5 separate regions of the Homo sapiens genome follow, and regions 1, 2, 3 and 5 are each linked to region 4. The links are contacts of gene promoters, found by promoter capture Hi-C in blood cells and fetal thymus (Javierre and others, 2016). All regions are on one chromosome and are shown on one strand. Each heading gives the region's core, a stretch centred on a gene start or on the middle of the fragment in contact. The rest is flanking DNA. Distances are from core to core; before and after follow the strand shown. Region 1 overlaps MACROH2A1 (macroH2A.1 histone). Region 2 has its middle 12 kb from the start of TIFAB. Region 3 has its middle 33 kb from the start of TIFAB. Region 4 holds the start of TGFBI (transforming growth factor beta induced). Region 5 holds the start of DCANP1 (dendritic cell associated nuclear protein 1).

Region 1 (3,844 bases), core at 376-2,875, 650 kb after region 4:
TTTCCCTTGCCATCGATATTCTGATTGATGCTCCTTGTGGTAACTAGTAGCTGAGGTAGTCTTTGGTTCACATTTATGTTGCCTCTATAAATCTGAGTATTGACTGCTAAAAGTCAATATCTGCTGTTCATTCAGAAAATGAGGGTACTTAACTTGAGTAGCATTGTTTTTCTTGCCCTTTCACTCCCACCCCAGGCCCTGGCAGTCTCTAGTTCATATTCTAACTGTGGCTTGTAATACTAGTTTTAGGGACTTCGGGGGAAGTGCTCTGAATTCTAGGTAAAGGTGGAACAGTTAAGTTCCAAAACATCTGCCGTATGTTGAACAGTTACTGTGTGCTAGGCACTGATTAAATGCTTTACATTTGGTAATTCATCGAATCCTCAAACCACCTAGCTTTCTTAGGAGTAAATTGAGGTTCAGAGTTTAAGTAACTTCTCCAAAATCACACAGCACAGAAACCTTAGCAGTCAGAGGAATTGGACCCCAGAGCACTTCATCCACTTGGCATTTCCTTTGTCTTGAAGCAGCCACCGTACACCTCAGGAAGACTGGTAAATGCCCGGTCCCCAAGGCTGGCTCGATGAAGACACAGCCTGAGGGGACAGACTCTGCAACAGTCATGGGTGATTGCCAGAGACATTCCTGTGGCCTCGTATGGGCAGGGAGGACAGGGGTCCTGCAAGATAGGCCTTGAAGGATAGGCAGCCCTGGACAGGGATGAGGAAAGTCTAGAGCGCACAGGCAGGAGGTGGGTGTGAGCACAGGAGGGGCGAAGTCCCCTGGAGTGACATGTGCTGGCCCGCCGGGAAGGGGCGGTCTGGTGCATGTTAGAGCTGCTGCTGTAGCAGTGGCAGAGCAAGCGAGGTACTGGGCAGAGAGCTGCCCTGAGGAGCCACAGCAGGCGTCGGAGAGGGCAGTGCCCAGTCAGGTATGGGGAGCTTGTGTCACTCAGTGGCACTGAGGAGGGCTGGAGAGTGGGAAGCTTTTTGGCCAATGTCCTTTCATTGTCCCCTTAGCGAAGAGGAGGTGGAATCCTAGGTGTTGGAGCTTAGGCAAATCCTTAGACAAGCAGTCCTCAGCATCGGGAATCCACACCGGCAGACAGCACAGAGGCCAGGCTGGTAAAGACCTCAGGAGCTATAGTGCCCTCTCAGGGGCCTCCCTTTCTATGACACACTCACACTGCTCTAAAAACAGCCATGAAAAAAGAACCTAGAAAGTCTTCGCATGCTCAGAACCATTTTTTGGGAGAAGCAGGATTAAGCAGGCTGGGACAGAGTGTCTGAGGGTAAGGGGGCTTGTGACCTGTGGTACCAAAGGCCAGCTGGGGCAGCCGATAGCAGAAGTGCCTGCAGCTTCTCATCTATCCAGTGTTATAATTATTTTCATTTTGAAAGGAAAATATGCAGAAGATAAATTCAAACAGCACAAAAGGGAGTAGAGCAAAACGTCTCCCTCTGACCAAGTCCCTGATTCTGCTCCCAGTGGGCGAAGCTGCTCCCCTGTCTTGATGAACATGTGTAGCCCGATTGCAGACGTCGCCTCCTCCCCCAACACAGTGCAGCCCACGAAACTCACTGTTCTGCTCCTCGCTCTTTCGCTTTGAGTCCATCTGGGAAACCGTACCATGACAGGGCTCCTTAAATGAGTTTCCTCTTTACATTATACTCTTCAAATCATTTCATTTCAGCAGACATCGCTGATTGTTCACCCCTTCCTGAGATGAATTAAGAACAAATGGCTGTGGTTTTCCCTATCAAAACAAACATACATATTAACCATTTCCTTGTAACTTAATTGAGAGTCCTTGACAGCAAGTGATTGGTGGGTCAGAGGTCCTGCCCAGCTGCCAGCCAGGCCTTGGAGTAGAACAGGTTTCTCAGGGCCTCCCCAGGCACCTTCTCCTTCCCAGGGCCTTGACTTCTACTGCCTGAGCCACTGGCTCTGCACGCTCTGCTGTGGTCAGACAAAAGCCCCAGACCTCATTCCAAGGTAGAGATGCCTGTGGGGGCGCCCTGGGTGCTGTGTTCCATCAAGGCAGGTCTGGCAGCACCGAGGTTAATCGAGTTCAAGTGCATTTTTCAAACATATGTTAACTGTTAAGCATAACAGCAAAGAGTAAACTATTGGCAGAGGAAACACCAGGTTTTCTGTTGCTTTTTTCCTCCTTTTGGCACAAATCCATCCATCGAAATCATCCAGTTATAGATAGAGGAAATCGAGGCAAAGGAAGTGCAGTTTTCTCCTGGTAATCAAGCTTGTCGCACTTTTTTAACAGTGCAGTTGTAGCCTCAACAGTAGTAGCTTGAATTTACTGAGTATACTAAGCATTTTACTTGGTAACTCATTAATCTCATAAGCCTAGAGGTAACCTCAGGTATCACTCCCCCTGTACAGAATAGGAAACTGAGGCTTAGATGCACTTGGCCACATCTTACAGATAATTACAGGAGCTGGGATCCAAACCCCGACGGTCTGTCAGCAGACCCCGGGCTCTCACCACAGTGCCATTTGCGATTGCTGCCCTCCCCTGCAGACAGAGCGGGCAGCTGAAACAGCACCAGAGGTGAGGAAGGCAGAGGAAAACTTCCTGACAAGGAAGATATTCGGGCACTGAGTTGGGTTGGTGGGTTAGATTAAGGTAATGTTTGCTAAGAATCATAGCTCCCCTGTGTTATTATGTATAATGTAAACTTATTTATTTTTTACTTTGAAATAGGGCTGAAAGTTCCAGTCAGTGGAACTTACTTTACAGATTCCCAAATTAAGCTGCATTTCCATCTTATTGGGAGACTTTGTGGGAAGGCAGAAGACTGGACCAAATGCTGTCTCTGAGACCCCTGGCTCCTCCTGGACTTTTCGGAGGAGTCTGCAGTGGGCTTAACAACAGTAGAGGAGTTTGTGTCAGGCTTGGAACCATCTTTGGAATACTACTTTCAATCACTGCTGTAGGTTTTATTTTCTCTATGGAATTCTGGTTCCTTTGAGGCCCCTGGGACAAGCAGATGGAGAGCTTTGCTGTGGCCCAGAGCTCCCAGCTGATGGCTGGGCAAGCTTCAGACCCTGCCACTCAACCTCCTGAAAAGGTGGGATGGGGGCAATGGATTCTGGGATGCGGCTGCAAACACTCAGAGCCACCAAGGGAATTGGAGGAGGTTGTGGTGTGGTCAGAATGCAGGAAGCTCTTAGCAGTCACCTTCCGATTGGGGTTGATTGGGTTAAGGCCTTCTGGGATGGTGTAAAACAGTTCTGAACTCAAAGGACTGCTGATGGAAGGATGATGAATCGAAAGAAATACAATAAACAGATTCCTTGTCATGTTGTTGGCCTTGTAGCAAACATGTTTTCTCCTTGGGATTACGTGAACATTTGCTTTTCTTTGATTTCTGGTTGTTATTTTCAGTATTTCTTTTGTTAAATGAGCTCTGTTTTACAGAGCTTCAGACAGCTCCGTTAAAGCCCCTGACTCTTTCCTATTGCAAGGGTTGTGTTTAGAGTTTGGCTCAGCCTCAACACATCACCTGTTAGCTGTTAGGAGTCTAATTCTGCAAACCATGACTTCATCTTGCTGAAGGAAGATAGACAAAATGCTTCAATACAACAGATATGTTTTAGTTCAAGACATTTGGAAAAAAGAAAAAGGACCCTAAGCCTTTCGTCTCTGGGTGGACTTGCAAAGTAGACCTGTCAAAGGTATTCATGTTCAGACGGCTGGTCTGTAGTCAAAAAGGCTGCCAAACCATGCTGTTATCCAAGGATGTGGGAATTTTGTCAAGCGGCCTTAAAACAGTCATGTTCAATGAAGCTGGGGAACGTTTGGCCCAGGATGTCCCTGCAGGGC
Region 2 (4,105 bases), core at 561-3,060, 560 kb after region 4:
AGTCAGACCCAGTGGACATACCAACTCTGCCACTTACCAGCTGTGTGACTGAGAGCAAGTTACTCTCTGCGCCTTAGCTTCCCCATCTGTAAAACAAGCCCCATGATAGTACCCCATGGTAGGATAGTTATGAGGATGTAAGCCAGATGTAACCCAGATGCCAGACACCCACTGTTCCCGAGGGTCTGGCTGCCCTTTAGTGTCCGATAGCAGAAGAGACCCAGCCTTCATCCTCCTTGGTCATCGTATGGCCAACTTTCATCCAGCTCCCCTCCCTCTGTGCCCTGGGAATCAACAGGTTGAGCTTGCCCACCCTGGCGATACCAGCTTGTGGCTGGTATTCCCTCATCTCACCTCCTGACTCAAGCTCCCCACTCTCCTTATCTCGGGTGATCTCTCGACATCTCATAACAAGTTTTCCCAGGCCCCACTGCTCCCCACAATGCTTCGGCTCACACGTGGTCAAGACTGCTGCTACATCTTAAAGCAAAGTAGGACCAGACCTGACTGGGATAATACTAGGAGAGAACAACAGAGCATGATGGAAACCTGCAAACTAGCTCCTGGGTGCGGCTAGGCTCAAAGTCCTGAAACCACAGCCCACAAAGGGGTCAGCATCCCCTCGAAGAGGGACTGCCCCAACCATATGGCCCTCTCCTCCAACAACACACTCCTCCAGCTTTCTGAGACTCTGTAAGGAAACTCGCTTCCTTTCTATTTCTGCAATTCCTCACATTTCTGCCCTGAGTGAAGACAACCTTTGCTGTGATTCTACAAAACAAAACTCTCAGTATTTTTCTTTTGCTGCCTGGAACCTCTGCATCCCAGAGCTGCAGCTTGGCTTTTTCTATGTAAAATCAAATGCCCTGTTAATTTTTTTCCCTTTTTCAAAACACAAAGAATAGGCTGCTCTCAAAGATGCCTCCTACAGAAACTAAAAGTCTAATGGGCCAGGCTCATGTGTGTGATCCCAGAACTTTGGGAGGCTGAGGCAGGAAGAGGATCACTTGAGGCCAGAAGTTCGAGATCAACCTTGCAACATAGGTTGGTCTCTACAAAAAAAAATAGAAACAAAAACTAGTCAGGTGTGATGATGTGTGCCTGCGGTCTCAGCTACTGAGAAGGCTGAGGTGGAAGGATGGCTTGAGCCCCAGAGGTCAAGGCTACAGTGAGCTGTGATCACGCCACTGCACTCCAGCCTGGGCAACAGAGTGAGACTGTGTCTCAAAAAAATAAAGTAAAATAAAAATAAAATGACAACGGTTGACATTGATTTTCTGATTCCTAGTCCACGATCCTGTGTAAGCTGTGTGCCTGTTTATCCCTTCACCAGTTCCCAACAACACTGTGAGGCAGTCACCATTTTGTCTGCATTTTTTAGAGGAGGAAAATAAGTATACGAAGGTTATGGGGGTCCCCCACATTCACATAGTTAAGTGTCTGTCTCCAGATTCAAACCCAGGCAATCTGGCTTCTTAAAGCTTCACCTTTAGCTTAAAGGTAAAAGCACAGGATCTGAGATTTCAAAAATGCTGGAGTCCCATCTTGGCTAGAACACCCTGTTACAAATGTGGGTGTTGAGTTTTCGCAGCATGGCTGGAGCACGGGAGGCGCCCAGCGAAAGGGGCACCTGGGGCCAGCAAAGCCTGTAGCCAGGCAATAGTGCACCAGAGAGGCAGCCTCCCATTCCACCCCTACCTCTCTAAGGGGTGATCTCTGAGTAAGGGGCATCTGTTAGCCTTGCCCCATCTCAGGCACCATCCTCAGTGGCTCACATCCCACGACAGCCGACATCCTTCAACAGCTCCTTTATTGTCTTGGAATAGAATCCAAACCCTCTACCAGAATCTAAAAGGCCCTGCAAGGACTATCTAACCCCACCTGGTTTCCAGCCATCTCTCTGTTACTGCTCTTCCCTTCGCTTGCAGGCAGTTCCCTGTCTAACCAAGGCTGCTGCTTCAGGGCATTTGCACTCAGGACCTCTCGGCCTGCTGCCTTACTCCCTTCAGCCTCTGATGAACCAGAATCTCCCCAGGGGGGGTTTCTGAATGCACAGTCATCCCCCACCGCAGCTACATGCTCACCATTCCTATTCGTTTCCTCCTTCCTTTCCAGACTGTCTCTAGAATGCAAGCTTCCTGAAGGAAGGCTTGCCAAACGTGATAGGCTTAGTAGTGGCCCCAAAGACACACCCACTTCCTAAACCCTGGAACCTGTGACTGTCACCTCATGTGGCAAAAGATGGGATCAAATTAAGGATCTTGAGATGGGGAGATTTCCCTAGATTATCTGGATTGACCCTAAATACAACGACAGTATCCTCATCACAGGAAGGTGGTGGGAGATTTCACACTCGGAGAAGAAGGCCACATGAAGATGGAGCAGAGAGATTTGCCCCAATAGAGAGACCCTGAGCACTCCAGTCTGTCTGGAACTAACACCAGCCACCCAGGCTATCTGCCCCATGCCCCAACTCACGTGTAGACTTTGGCTCCTTCATGGTGATTTCTGTTATTTGGTTCTGCGGGGGCTCATGTCCTAAGGAAAAAATTACATTTTGGCTAACTAGGGTTTACCACACCTCACAAAAGGATTGCAAACTCAAAGGCTTACAGGAGCCTAGAACATAAAATAAATATATACGAAACAGGACTGGGGGAACTGAGGCAAACTGGGATGGAGCGCCAAGCGTCTGCACCAGCAGACGAGTGCCCTGCAGGAACCCGAGCCCAGGCCAGCCTCATCTCCTGACTTTTCAGCTGAAGCTGCAAAAATTGAGGGTTTTATTTCCAGGCTTCCAATTTTAAAATGTTGACAACTTGGACAAAATGTATACAATACCACACTGTGTGGCCCATAGTAGCTGCTAGTTTCTTCTTTGCGGACAGGGACCCACTGAGGCAGAAGGCACCAAATCCAGGTGGCTCCTAGCTTGATTGGGGTGCCTGTCCTGAACATTAGGACCACTTTCCCTGCAGGATCCATGGGGGAATTCGATTCTCCCAAGTGAAAACATCAGAATTCAGTTGAATTCCGATGCAGCTGCACGTCTGCAACAAACACTTCCAACAAATAATAGAGTTGTGACATTCATCATTCCAACAATGAGAACAAATACCAGAATTGAATAAAAAGTTGTGTCCTTGATTTTCCTGGGTGCTGTTGTTGGAAGGCGGGGGTGGGGGGCACCTCAGCTCCTATCTAAAAAATCATCCAGGCCAAGCAGTTGTCAATTAAAGACTGAGAAAGGGAGGAGGGAAAGGCAGCCCTACTCACATCTCGCAGGGCAGCTCTCCACCTGAGCTGAGGTGGGCAGAGTTAATTCCTCCAAGAGCCTTCAGCCTTGAAGAGGTGACATGGAGGTAGCTCTAGCCCTGCAGGGGGAGCAACTATGCCGAGTCCCTGAGAGCTGCCTGAGGGTGGGGACAGCTGTCCCCACCGAGCGTCGCGTCCTCTGAAAACACACAAGCAGGCAATTTCCTGTGCACAAAAGTTGCCCAACAGTGCCCCCTAGCACTCATAATGACATACCTTCTTAGAGTAGGGCCTGGGAGGTTTTAGAAAGTTATCTGAGAGAAGAGACTAGGGAAAAATCTGGTTCTCCAAGTCATACTTGCCAACAACATTTGGGTGTGTTGGGGTTGGCGAGCAGGAGTGGGTAGGGGATGGGGGGGAAAGGAAGGCAGATTAAGGGTGGCATTTATCAAGCACTGGCCCTAGCATTCGTGCCAGGGTTCCCTGTTTCCAGGAGGACCAGATCATGGCTTACACTGAAGACACATTAAGGCTTGCCAAGGTTGAGCTGAGAGCCCCCAGGCTTGATTTAAAGGTGTTGGAGGCATTCCATGGTCTGTGGCAATCCCATCAGCAGTAGAACTTACCTGCAAATGGCTGAGCCACGATGGCCCTGAGCCTCAGTTAGAACCTCTGCAGCTCTACAAGCCACTTCTTACTGCAGATGGGCCCATAGGAAAGTATGTGCCCATCCCATGCCATGGCCAGCCAATTGCAGGCAGACAGCTAAAGGCCAAACACCAATGACAGGTTCTGAGGTAGGTTCCCAACACGTACACAGCAGACACCCTTCAGGTAAATGGCCAACAAA
Region 3 (4,309 bases), core at 973-3,472, 540 kb after region 4:
AGGCTGCTGAGCCCACACATTTGGATCCACTTTCTGTGGTTTGTGCCCTGGGCCTTGGCAGGTCCTAAAACCCTCTCTGTGTCCTGGTCAGGTATGCAGCCAGGAGCCAAGCCATGAGAGCAACAGCTACTTCTGCCTTTAAAATCTTCCATTTTCACCTCTCTCCAGTTCTTTCTCCCAGGGACATGGGTGTTCCTTCAGCCCCTCCACCCTTCTTCACGGATGAAGGTAGGCACAGCCTTCTGCCCTTATGGAGCACCGTGCCCAAGGCCTAAGGTCAGGGTAAGCATAGGGCTCTGAATCCAAGGTTTGGCTCAAACCCAAGCCCACTTCCAAGCCTCAGTGGGCTCCTCTGTAGAATGGGGACAGCAGCAGTTCCCCTCCATGGGACTGTTGATTGGATCAAAGGCCACAAAAAGTAACAGGTAGTACTCACAGTGGAGTAATCACTTTGAACATCGTATTCTTTCAATGCCTGGCACCCTCTTCTTGTTATTTGTAGTGTGCTTATCAGTTGTTGAGCACTTACGCTGCTGGCGCTCTCTGTGTGTTTTCACGTGCCTGCTCACGGACGCTCCATTATTACCCCGGTGTGTAGATCTGATGGGGGGAACCACAGAGAAGTTAAGTTGCCTGTCCAAGCTTCACAGCCAGAAATGGAGCCTGGGATTAACCCACATTCCTCCTGACTCCAGAGCCATGCTAGGAAGCCCCAGCAGGTCCTCAGTGCCCCCTTGTCAACATCGGGTGTGCCTTCTCCAGACCAGCTGCCTTCCTTTGACCCACCAAGATGGGACTCCTCCACAGTCCTGGAAGAGCCTGTGGCCTTGACCCAAGTGCCGTGGAGAGACAGTTTGAGCACTCCTCTGAATGGGAACAGAGAGCCCCTGCAGGGGGAAAAGTTCAGCCTGTGAAATTTCTTTCCCTTCAATTTCCTTCTCCACCGGGTCTTGCTCACACAATGCCCATCAAAGGTGTAGCCTTGGTGGTGCTTTTTGCAGCTGTCCACAACACTTGGTGTGTCCATTCTGCATGAAGCGCACACCTCTGGGTTGCCACCATCCTGACTGGTGCACTATAGCACTGCCCCTGGCTGAGAGGCAGGCAGGTAGGATAATATCCCACCCATTCCCACTGGATGGAACTCTACTGTGTGCTCAGGACAAATCAGAACCCTCGAGCTTGGATCAGGCTTGATGAATCAGGCCCCTCTGAATCAAAGCCATTTGCTCACCATAGCCTCTTGGGAAGGGGAAAGGAAGGTGGGCAGATGGGAAGGGGTTAAGTCTCAGCTTGGGGTTCACCCTCCTCATTGCTCCATCACAGACCAGCAGGGTCTGCTCTGATCACCAAGATCCTCAGGAAAACAATGTTACAACCTCCCTTAGGAATTCTGATCAAGTCCAACCATCCTTTTCCCTTTTATCTGTCTTGTCTAGACTAATTTCCTCTCATTGCCTGAGAGCAGAAATGTATTAAGGGCTCTAATTGACCAAGATAATGAAGTATCTGCCACTGATTGTCAATCAGTCAAGTCCAAACTCCTTATTCGGAAGATGGGGAAACAGACCCTAGGAGGCAGTGACTTGCATAAAATCTGGGGTATGGACCTTCTATACCGGGAGGATGGTGTTTCCTTAGTACAGTCTTGCACTGCACAACAACGTTTTTCAGTCAACAATAGACCACACTTATATGACAGTGGTCCCATAAGATTATAAGGGAGCACATATAGAAATCTGACATATGGCACTTGATACTGACATTGCAGATCAAGTAGGAGAGATGACTGATTATCAGTAATGGTGCTTGGACATTTGGTTTTCCATATAAAAATATATAAATAAAAGCATATATACCATCTAGGCTTGTGTAAGTACACTCTATGATTCTGCACAACCACAAACTTACTGAACAATTCATTTCTTGAACATATCCCTGTCATTCAGTCGTATGACTGTAAGTAGATGAACATTCCCTGAAGGCCTAACTCTGCTCTAGGTTTCAGGAAAATACCTGTGAGATACTTGTCTCAGGGCTGATGGGTGACCTTCTGGGGTGAAGGCTTAACCCCTCTTAACCTTTGATCTCTGGCCATCGGTCCCCAACTTCTTCTCCAGGCTAAGTGAGTGCAAATCCGGCATCAGTCTGCCCAGAGGCCACCTGGGGGGGACATAGAGGCCAAGAGGCCCAGCAGGGACACAGCCTCTTTAAGCCAGATCAGTCCTGCCTGAGTGAAGGGAAGCCCAGAGGGAGAGAGGTGGTCACCCTGGGTAGGACAATTGCAGGAGGGACGAGCTGGGCCAGGCCTGGGCTCCACAAGGGCCCCTCTGTTCACATTCCCCGGATCAAAACCCACAGCTGGGATGTGCAAAATGCTCCTGGGAATGGTGAGAGGAGCAGCTGGCTTGAAAACCCCACATCCCAGTCTGGAGCAGGCTCCTCCAGGAGAGGCGTAAGGCCAGCCACGGTGCAGGCTCCAGAGAGCTGGGGACTTTTAGCCTACTTGAAAGAGCAAACAGCTTTCAAGTGCTCTCTGGAGCACCTATTTCAATGCTAATGAAAGACTCTTCTCTACGCATTAAAGCACATCTCCAAAAGACTCCCATGTAAGGGCTGCGTGTCCTTGTGCCTCTGTGTGTGTGTGTGTCTCAGAGTCAAATAGGGCCCAGGAAACAGAGTGCATGGGCTTCTGAGCTTCCCAGTACACCCTGCCCACATTCATCTGAATTAGAAGTGACAGAGAAGGACTTGTTGCCAACATCTCACCCATTTAGAAGTCACTCCAAGAAGGTCGGGCGCAGTGGCTCACGCCTATAATCCCAGCACTTTGGGAGGCCAAGGCAGGTGGATCACGAGGTCAGGAGATCGAGACCATCCTGGCTAACACGGTGAAACCCCATCTCTACTAAAAATACGAAAAAACAAAATTAGCCAGGCGTGGTGGTTGGCACCTGTAGTCCCAGCTACTCAGGAGGCCGAGGCAGGAGAATGGCGTAAACCCGGGAGGCGGAGGTTGTAATGAGCCGAGATCGTGCCACTGCCCTCCAGCCTGGCCGACAGAGCGAGACTCCATCTCAAAACAAAAAAAAAATTGCACAGAAGATCATCAAGCTGTGTGGGGACCTAAGTGAATCAAAGTGTGAGTTCCCAAGTCAGACAATCCTAGTTCCTGTCTAGACTCCACATTACTAGGCAAGATATTGGCCCTTGCTTTGAGACCCTATTTCCTCATTTGGGGCTCACCCCCCTCATTACTGCATCACAGACCAGCAGGGTCAGCTCTGATCACCAAATGGTAAGGATTATGAAGGCCAGGGGTTTTGGAAAGCATTTGTCACAGGCCCAGCACATAGCAAGGAGTGATCTCTGCTTGGTTGCTCTTCCCCTGGGCCCTGGCTTAGTGCTCAGCACACACAGGATAGATGAGTTTGGGATGAAGATTTCGGAAAGGAGGAGGCTGGCTGTTGGTGGTCAATATGGTGGTCGAAGGTGGTCAGGCATGCTCCATTGATTTTCTTTTTTGGAAAAAATAAACTGGAGTGTTTTGTTTTGTTTTGTTTTGTTTTGTTTTGTTTTGTTTTGTCTAAACAGGGGCCCAATAAGGGGCAACTTCCTAGAAAGCCTGACAGTTCATGGCCAATTCCTCAATGTCCTCTGAACCAGGCAGGGCTCTGCCACCTACCACGGACATCCCTGGTCAGTGACTTGGCCTGTCCATGCCTCAGTCTCCTCCTCTGTAAAATGGGGATAATAATAATGCCCTCCTCATAGAGTTCTTAAACACATTAAGGAAGCTTAGCCCAGTGCCAGGTACCAGAGTAAAGGCTCAATAAATGTCATCTTCCACCATCATGCACATCCTCCCATGATGATATGCATCCCACCTGCTGAGAATCCTGGTGGGAAGTGGCAACCCAGATGCAGACCCCAAATGAGGCAGCAGCCTAGAGAAGCAGGACCTCTCAGGCATTTTCTGAGGTCAAAAATGACTTCCTAGAAAAGGAGAAATGGAAAAACATTTTTCTAGTGGCTTTGTCCCCCACCCCATCTCACCTCTACATACAACTCCCTGCTCCTAGGGCTGCGGAGAGATCAGGGTGGACTAGGGGGTGAGGAAACAGCTGTAAGCAAGCTGGGGCTCACCTGTGCCCCGTTCCCACCCCCTCACCTAAGGGGCCACGCAGGGACAGGATGCTCACACAGGGTGAGGAGAGGGCTTGTTGCCTTGGGGAAGAGAAAGCCCTCAAGAGCAGGCCACTGATCTCAAAGGGAAATAATGGGATTTTCTGGGATTCACATTGATCCC
Region 4 (4,083 bases), core at 1,481-3,980:
CAGGAAATTCAGTTCAGTTTTTGGTGGTTGATGTTTGGAAGTGTGATTGTATTTTTACTTCTCTTTCAGTATTATTTTTCCCCTTCCCTATAGCAACACAGATATAGCTGGGAGTCAAGAGACCATATCATAGTTATTACTCTCCCAACAGCATTCTGTGTCTGAACTAAGTCACTCTCTACCTCACTAAGCTGCAGTTTCACCTCCTGTAAAATGGGAACATGAACAGTAGATCTCACTGTGTTGTGGTGAGGTCGAAAGCAAAAGCGGCAATCGAGTGCTGCGCACAAGCAAGGCACAGCTGTTATTTCTTCCTTCATATCAGGCAGCACGCTACAATTCCTTAAAATAGCAAAGTTTTCCTTCCCTTTCTAACAGTTTTCACTTTGAATGAAAGGCTGGAGCTAGAACAACGTTATCCATTTGCACAAGGCGCCACAGCCCTGTGTGCCAGGCCAGGCAGCCCTGTGGCATTAACAGGGACAGTTAGATCAGAGTAAATACAACTGTGCCTGCAACCATTTTGCCATGGTTCATGTGCCTGCGCATCCAGATTCTACTGGGACAGGGGTGCTCCTGTGACTTCTTAGATTACTCTGCCCATCACAGATTACAATAGGCCTTTCCAGCTGTGCTGCAGGAAGCTAATTAAGAGGCTTTGCCTGCAGGGGTATGGTGGGGAAGTTGATCTAATATCTGGAACTCATAATCAAGAGCATCTGCATTTAAGAAAAAAACCCTGTTTTCCAGCTGGTCAGCACTCTTCTGGGCTCTGAAGGGAAAGAGGTTTGCTGTAAAGATGGCTCTTGATGGAAAGCCCTCAATACCTTTGAGGATCCTTCACTGTGGCTGTGCAGAGAGATGCCCTTACAGGTGACACTGTTGCAGGGCATGCTATAAGGATCTTCTCCTGACTTAGTGGCGAAGATACAGAAGAAATAGAACCCTCCTAGGCAAATTGAGGCACCCAAACATAACACAATTCATTGGCAGGAAAGGCAGAGAGACCAACGGAGAGGTGGGCAGAGATAATAAAAATGCCAGGTGCTTGCATTTTGATGTTGAGGCCTCATATCCCTCTCATCTTTCTGACATCCCCCCTCACTCTATTCTGCACACTGCCCAAGTCAAAGCTGATTCTCCCACTTCCAGAAAGACCCCAGGATATCCCCAGTATTCTCCTCTTTCCAGGAGGGTGTTGAGGTTGCAGCCAGGCCTGGTTTGATTTCACTCTGCAGGGTGGCCAGATGTGCTCCCAGCAGGCCCTCTCCGCCAGAGCCCCAAACTCCTGAAAGGCCTAGACCATAAAGCCACAAGTAGAGGAAACAAGAGCAACTATGCCCTACAAGGGGCAGCCTGTACCCGTACCCAGAGCACTCCTAGTGCAAGGAGCCAAGACTTTCAGGGCCTGTGAAGTCAACTCTATCACCCCCAACAATGAGTTTTGATTTGAGCACAGATCTGCCCAGTCTCTTGGAGGTTTGGGCATTGCTTGTGGGTGTGAACGCCAGACCCCGATGGTATTTAGGCTTCCTCTGAGGAGTCACTACAAGATTCTACTCATATATAGTTTTACCTAGTTATGAAAAAGAAGTTGGTGCAACCAGGTAGGCTGGAAGCTGCAGCAAAGCCTGGGTATTTGTGACGCAGGTATGGCCTGGTTTTTGAGGTAGAAATGTTGCCTGCCTCTGCCTGGGTCAGTATTAGGGCCACTATCAGACCAGACCTTCTGCTTGAGTTTGTCTCCTAAAGCCAACACATCTTCAGGGTCTCAAAGGAATTCCTGCAATGATAGTGTCCTACATTTACAAACCCAGCTATTACTTTAAGACAGACTCCAATCCTGGCTCCAGTGCACACTTCAGGACTGTGGGAAAGTGGAACCACTCAGGACTCAGTTTCCCCATTTGAACAGTGTGTGTGAGGGCCCAGTGCATTCTCCTGCTCTTCATCGGGCAGGACAAGAAGTGCCACATTGCCCTTGCTGTACCCAGAGAGCAGTGTCGGGTGCCAGCAGTGTCTGAGTGCAGGGCCTGGCCAGGAGCACAGGAGCCTGGGGCACCTTAGATGCTGCCACCGTGTGTGGCCCAGGTTCTTGTCTGGAGTCGCTGGCCGGGGGCCTGGCTGGGTTGGAATAGGTGTACTGCTGGGTGGGCTTTGCCCTTGGCACCCTCCCACGGTGATTATGGCCAAAGAGTTGCCATTTCCCCCTTTCTGCAGTGGCTGGGAGGAGAAGCTGAAAGCGCTGTCCGTCTCAGGCTCTTGGCCTGCGTCGAAAGTCTCTGGTCCACTTCCCCACTCCCTTCTACAAAGCGGCGGCCTCCCGCTTTCCCTCCATGGTCCTCCACCTCCCTCCCTCTCTCCTTCCACCGCGTGCAGGGCTGGTGTCCGAGCGCTCCATGCTGCAAGGTTTTTAGTTCGGGCTTTGTCCCCTGCGCCCCCAGCCCAGTTCAATGCCCCCAGCGGCTTGCGCTCCGAGCCCCGACTACCTGACCTTCCGCAGCCCCTGGCCAGGCGGCTCGGCTTACCCGTGCTGGCGGCCCCGGAGCCTGCTGTGCTGCAGCACCAGCTGGTAGGGCGACTTGGCGGGACCCGCCAGGGTCGCGGCGGGGCCCAGGGCCAGAGCCAGGGCGAGAGCCAGCAGCCGCACGAAGAGCGCCATGGAGCGGGACGACGCGCACCGAGCGAGCTAGCGACCGACGGGCAAGCGGGCGGCTCCAGGGAAGTGAGAGCGCCTCCGCCGCCCGGGCCAGGTTAAGTAAGCTGCGAGCGGGAGGGAGCGGACGCCAGGGGCGGGGAAGCTGGGCCGGCCCGTGCAAGGAGGGCGGGCCGCCTGGCGCCTCCCAACCCGTGCGCCCCTGGCTGCCCTGGGCACCCACCCGCTCCCGCACTGTGCCCGTGCTCAGTTTTCCCAGCCCTTGCCCTCACTGCCAGCCCTCCCTCCCTCTCTCCCTCGCCACAGTCTTCCTCAAACCAAGGGTATAGGTCCCTTAGGCCTCCTGTGGCTGCTTCCAAATGGGGACCTTGGGACTGAGGGACAGCTGTCTCGGGGGCTTCGGTCCTGCATGCTGGGGGCCCGAAGATTCCCTCACTGATCTTGAGGCTACAAAACACTGCAGGGAGGGGTGAGGGGAGGCAGTGCTGATTCCCAGAACACCATGGCCCATCAGACTTGTTTCTGCACCCCAGGAGCTGACCACCCTCCCCAGCTCCTCAATCTCTAATCCCTCCACCCCCACCCCACCTGTCATGCTCATTGAAAGACAGATGAGTAAATCGTGTGATCCACAGAAACGCCAAAAATGTGGGGCAGGTTTTGTTGGGCTCTAAGCTGCTTTTGGAGCCCGTGGGGAAGGGTGGGGTCCTCACCTTGGTACTAATTCATTCCCTTCTTCAGTAAACATCTCTGCAACAGTACCTGCCAGATAGATTCTGCAAAGGCAAGAGTCCTGCCCTGGAGGAGCTCAAGGCAGGTAAACAAATTGTCACATGGTAAAGAGGTGATACTTACCCAAGCATCTATTAATCACCTGTCAGTTACTTGGCACTGCTAGCCCTGGGGAGACACAGATGGATTAATAGAATGAGTGAGACCTAAGCCCTTTGTGAAAAAGCTCCAATTTGGGAAGATCCGTAGCCCAAGCCAATGATGTTCCATGAAGAGTAGCTGGGGCTTTGGGAGCTAAGAAGAGGCACCTGGCCCTGACAGGGTGATACCTGCTCTGAGGCCTGAAAGATGAAAATGAGTTAATCAGGTAAACTGAGGCATGCATTCACGAAACTCAAGTTATCTGGTTGGCTGAAGCACAGGGAGGTGGAGTCAAGGGTAGGGAAGAAGGGGAGGAAGGTAGCAGGGCCCAGACTCCAGCTAAGAGCCTAGCGGGTGATGGGTGGAGGCAAGTGACATGGCCAGTGTCATGAGAGGCTTAAGGAGGCAAGAAGAACAGGTAACCAGGAAGGGACCATGGGAGAGCTTGAACTATGGTGGTAGAGGCAGAGATGGGGAAGGCTGGGCAAATGTGAGGGGTGTAGGAGGTAATAGTCTCAATAGAATTTGGAGTCTGTATACAGGGAGAAGGGGAG
Region 5 (4,169 bases), core at 1,254-3,753, 580 kb after region 4:
GCATGATACCAGCCCTCTGCTTCTCGGACGGGGGCAGGACGCCCACCTCCAGCTGCAGCTCCCTCGCCTCTCCCGCCGTCACCTGTCCCTGGAGCCCTACCTGGAGAAAGGCAGTGCCCTGCTGGCCTTCTGCCTCAAGGCCCTGAGCCGCAAGGGCTGTGTGTGGGTCAATGGGCTGACGCTGAGGTACCTGGAGCAGGTCCCCCTGAGCACCGTCAACAGGGTCTCCTTCTCAGGCATCCAGATGCTGGTTCGCGTAGAAGAAGGCACATCCCTGGAGGCTTTTGTCTGCTATTTCCATGTCAGCCCTTCACCCCTGATTTACAGACCTGAGGCTGAGGAAACTGACGAATGGGAAGGCATCTCCCAGGGGCAGCCTCCCCCTGGTTCAGGGTAGCAGATCCAGGTTGCCTGGGGTTTCTCCACGGCCCTTCCCAGACTTGGGACAGCCCTCTCCAGCCAAGACCTGGAGGAGGAACAGAAATACAGCTCCAGAGGGAACCCCCAGACAGTGCACTCTGCTAGCCCTGCCACTAGAGCAAGCCTTTGCTAGATGAAACAGGATTTGAAATACTTGAGCTGCATCATGCAAGGTTGACAAGCAAAACCCACTGGCTGCCTTGCTCATAATGAACCAATTCTGCAAACACCGAACAAACAGCCCAGGGGGGAGAAGCACCCTCTGTGGCCAGAGCTATGCAATGTAATGGGAACATCATATACTTTTAGAGGCCCTGAGGGGTTCTGGGGAGCCTCTCTCAGCATTTCCACACATTTCTCCCTGTTGTCTGACTAGGAGTTACTTTATGTGGTTCATTTTGTGTGCTGCTTAAGAGCAGGAGTTTGAGGTTGCACCAGGAATGCGTGGACACATGTAACAATTACATTTGTGGTAGCTTGGGGTTACCTTCAGCTTTCAAATACCCACAGGCACGCGGGGCTTAGGAAAGCCTGAGTGTAATAAACTGCAAGTATTTCATTAAGCTGGCATACCCAATAGGATTCCCTGATCCCCAGATGGGCCACATGCACGCCACGCTGTCATGCAGACGTGGGGGTGGGAAATATAGACGAGGTGTAAGAGGAAATTGGAAAGGTGGGACTCACATTTCTGGAAAGGATGCAGGCAGGGCTCAGGGTTTCCTGAGGATGGGAGCTGGGAGCTGGGCCTGCCTGGAAATTCATTGTCCCCCTTATCATCCTCATCCTCACACTCCGCATTCTCTGTCACTTCTGGATCAAGGCCTTGGTTGACTTGAGGGCAAGGTCTTTAGGGAATGAGGGGATGGGGTGGGGGTTTGTGTAAGAACTCAGCCCAGCAGTTATTTCGCTCAGGGTGAGTCACACACCAATGGGGGTGGGGGAATTCCTTCCAAATAAGGGACTCGTTAGGAGCCAGGTACGCCAAGGGCAGGAGGATTTTCTCGGTGAACAAGGGCAGCAGCTATTTGCCACGCCATGCTGAGAAGGGGAGAGTGTGGTTTAGAAACAACGTTCACTAGTGTGATGCAGGGAGGGATCTACATGGTCACCATGATCCCAGACCCCACTCTCCAGGGAATCTGAGGCACCAAGGGCACAGCCCTGTTCCCCTGGCTGACTCGAATCTCTGGGTCTGTAGCTGTCAACAATTTCTGTTTTCTGCCCAAAAGGATGATCGTTTTGCACCCAGGGCAAGCTACAAGGAGGTCCAACTTCACTCACAGGCCCTGAGCATCTTCTCCATCAGGAAAACAGAGGTGGGCAAGACCCAGGCTTGCCCTGGTGTGGGAAGCTTCCTCTCCAATAGGGATGAAGCAAAAACACTCAGATCACAGCCACAAGGCAGGGAGAGCAGGGCTGCTAGGAAGGGGCTCTCTGATGCTGTGAATGACCCCTTGGGACCCCCAAAGCAGTTCCTCATTCATTCAGCAAACCTTCACCAAGCACCCACCTTGTGCCAGATCTGTGCAAAGCCACGGAACTGAACCAGAAGTGAATAAGGCAAACTCCCTCAGGGAGTTTACCTTGCACTCAGGAAAGTCAAGCATTCAGGAGTGCATTACTTATTTGATCACTACTATGATTAGTGCTATAGTCATTGTATTTTTCTCTCTCCTCCAGCTGGGCTCACATTCTCTTGTTAAGTGGCCTTGCCTGTTGAGTGCCTACCATGTGCTTAGCACTCTGCTAGGTGCTGTGTGTATTAACTGCACTTAACAGATAAGGAAACTGAGACTTGGAAAGGTTACATATCTTGCCCAACATCACACCATCAGTAGCTATGCGATTTGGGCAAGTGATTTAGTCTGCTCTTGCCTCTATTTCTCCCGCTGGAAAATGGGTAAGATAATAGTACTACCTGCTAGAGTTACGAGGGTCTTAGAAGGTGACACCTGTAAAGCATTCAATCAGTGCCCAGCACACACTTAATAAGGGTTAGCTACTATCATGAGACCTGAGAGAGGAGGGCTCACCATCCACACGGAGCTAAGGAAGACTCACACCCCAGTAAGCTGGCTCCAGAACCCAAGGGCTTACCTGTGCTCTGTGATTCCCCAACTAGGGATTTAGTTGTAGCCACGGACCTGGTAGGCAACAGGGAGGGGATTTTAATCTGCTCCTTGCATCAGAAGGTCCAATAGGCAGGGTTAGTATAATGGGAGATGCCCTGGTAGGGCTGGCAAGGAGAAGAAGCCACATGTATTTTGGTCTGATGAAAAGCAGCAGTGATCTGTCACTGACCAAAATGGTCCCCCAACTATGCATTACGGAGCAGCAACCCACATACAGAACTCGAGAAGCCACGGCCTGGAGACTGTACCTGGACACCAAAGACTGGAGAGAGGAGCTGGTGGGGAAACCCCAGAGTTCCCAGGGTGCCACTCCCCAGCTCCACCAGAGAACTTTGGGAATGAGCTGCTGCCCCTGAGTGCCCCTCTCCAGGGCCTCAGTGAGGGTCTCTACCCTCCAGGGAGGAACAAAACCTTGCCAGCTGGGGTCCTGCGAGAGGGGGCAGTTCAATTCCTCCACAGGGGACTCTGCAACTCCAATCTTTCGAGTGAAGCATCTGCGAGGCCCTCAGGGACCCAGGATGAACTGCATAGCAGCAGAAGGAAGACAGGCCAGACCAGGCGGGAGGGAGCCCGGAAACATCTGGTTTGTAGTTTCAGACTCTACCCGTTCACAGTTCACACAGTCTCACCGGGAAACTCACACCTTGCCCTGTACCAAGTTTTTAAGGCAGTTAAGCTCTGCCCATCCGAGACTTCATTTTTCTTGAGTAGAAAATCACTGAAATCATCAGATCCATGGCACCCACCTTCACTTTCTCCTAACAGCTGGAACCGTCAGGCTGGCTTCAGGGCCTGGTCTTCGCACTTGATATCACTATCCCTCACCTGCTCAGACAGCCAGAGCAGGCGGGTGAGTTCCTCCCAACAACCTCCACTGCATTCTCTCAGCTCCCACCGCAGGGCAGCCCACGTGCCTGAGTGAACATGTGTGCGTGTGCACACACGCAAGTATGCACAGACATACACTAAACACGAACATACAGTGCACATGAACGCTGCTCCCAGCTAGGGCCCTCTGGTCAGACTGCTGCCTGGGTTAGAATTCTTGTCCCCACCCCCACTTACTATAGTTCTGTGATCCTGGACAAGTAACTGAATCTCTCCGTGCCACAGTTTCTTCTTGTAGAAAACGGGAAAGTTCACAGTACTTACCTCCTTAGAGTCATTGTGAAGGTCAGTTTGAGGCATCACAAATTTAAGGCACCCAGACATAAGGGTCAACAGGGTTAGCTATCACTGTCCAGTTTGGTGGGAGGAACTGAATGCATGTAGGCACATGGACCCAGTCTACACTCAGGCACAAAAGGAGCTACATTAGTTACATTCAGGCATACCCCAGAGCACTACAATTCTCTGAGACATTGTCTGGAAATCTAGAAATCATCTCCTTGCCCTTTAAGGTATTTTAACCCTCGCATTCCTCTGCTTTTCCAAGAATGTGAATCTTGCCAAGCTGTCCGTGAGAGACACGGGCTCCCCTCGAGGGAGACTTGCAAATGCTCCATAAACAGCCACAGTGTGGGGCTCTGCCATGAGGAAGTCACAGCAGACACGCTAGACAGCATAGTCCTGGATGCAACCTGGAGGAAGGGAGGCCCATGGTGGAGCACTCAC

What was found. Contacts are between HindIII fragments. The CHiCAGO score rates a contact against its expected background, and 5 or more counts as called.
Region 1: a contact is called between a fragment that was not itself captured here and the fragment with the promoter of TGFBI in region 4, in 1 of 17 cell types (M0 macrophages). The highest score is 5.4, in M0 macrophages.
Region 2: a fragment that was not itself captured here is called in contact with the fragment with the promoter of TGFBI in region 4 in 1 of 17 cell types (M1 macrophages); the score reaches 5.7 in M1 macrophages.
Region 3: a fragment that was not itself captured here is called in contact with the fragment with the promoter of TGFBI in region 4 in 1 of 17 cell types (M0 macrophages); the score reaches 5.6 in M0 macrophages.
Region 5: the fragment with the promoter of DCANP1 here is called in contact with the fragment with the promoter of TGFBI in region 4 in 3 of 17 cell types (M0 macrophages, M1 macrophages and M2 macrophages); the score reaches 12.0 in M0 macrophages.

The regions. Positions count from the first base shown.
Region 1 is chr5:135,375,264-135,379,107 of GRCh38, reverse strand. The region is part of intron 2 of MACROH2A1 (macroH2A.1 histone); the gene reads left to right. Among named protein-coding and RNA genes, the nearest start is that of MACROH2A1, 22 kb to the left of the region's middle. The HindIII fragment of the contact is 1,275 bases long and covers 988-2,262 here.
Region 2 is chr5:135,461,811-135,465,915 of GRCh38, reverse strand. No RefSeq gene overlaps it. Among named protein-coding and RNA genes, the nearest start is that of TIFAB, 12 kb to the right of the region's middle. The HindIII fragment of the contact is 653 bases long and covers 1,484-2,136 here.
Region 3 is chr5:135,482,897-135,487,205 of GRCh38, reverse strand. No RefSeq gene overlaps it. Among named protein-coding and RNA genes, the nearest start is that of TIFAB, 33 kb to the right of the region's middle. RefSeq lists an enhancer at 1,803-2,651. The HindIII fragment of the contact is 3,155 bases long and covers 645-3,799 here.
Region 4 is chr5:136,027,635-136,031,717 of GRCh38, reverse strand. TGFBI (transforming growth factor beta induced) reads right to left here and starts at 2,730. Exons shown (of 17, transcript NM_000358.3): 1 at 2,529-2,730. The coding sequence starts at 2,662. RefSeq lists an enhancer at 444-513. The HindIII fragment of the contact is 4,637 bases long and covers 1-4,083 here.
Region 5 is chr5:135,445,682-135,449,850 of GRCh38, reverse strand. DCANP1 (dendritic cell associated nuclear protein 1) reads left to right here and starts at 2,503. Exons shown (of 1, transcript NM_130848.3): 1 at 2,503-4,169. The coding sequence starts at 2,743. The coding sequence ends at 3,477. TIFAB (TIFA inhibitor) reads left to right here. Exons shown (of 2, transcript NM_001099221.2): 2 at 1-4,169. The coding sequence ends at 397. RefSeq lists enhancers at 1-132, 133-634. The HindIII fragment of the contact is 6,394 bases long and covers 1,777-4,169 here.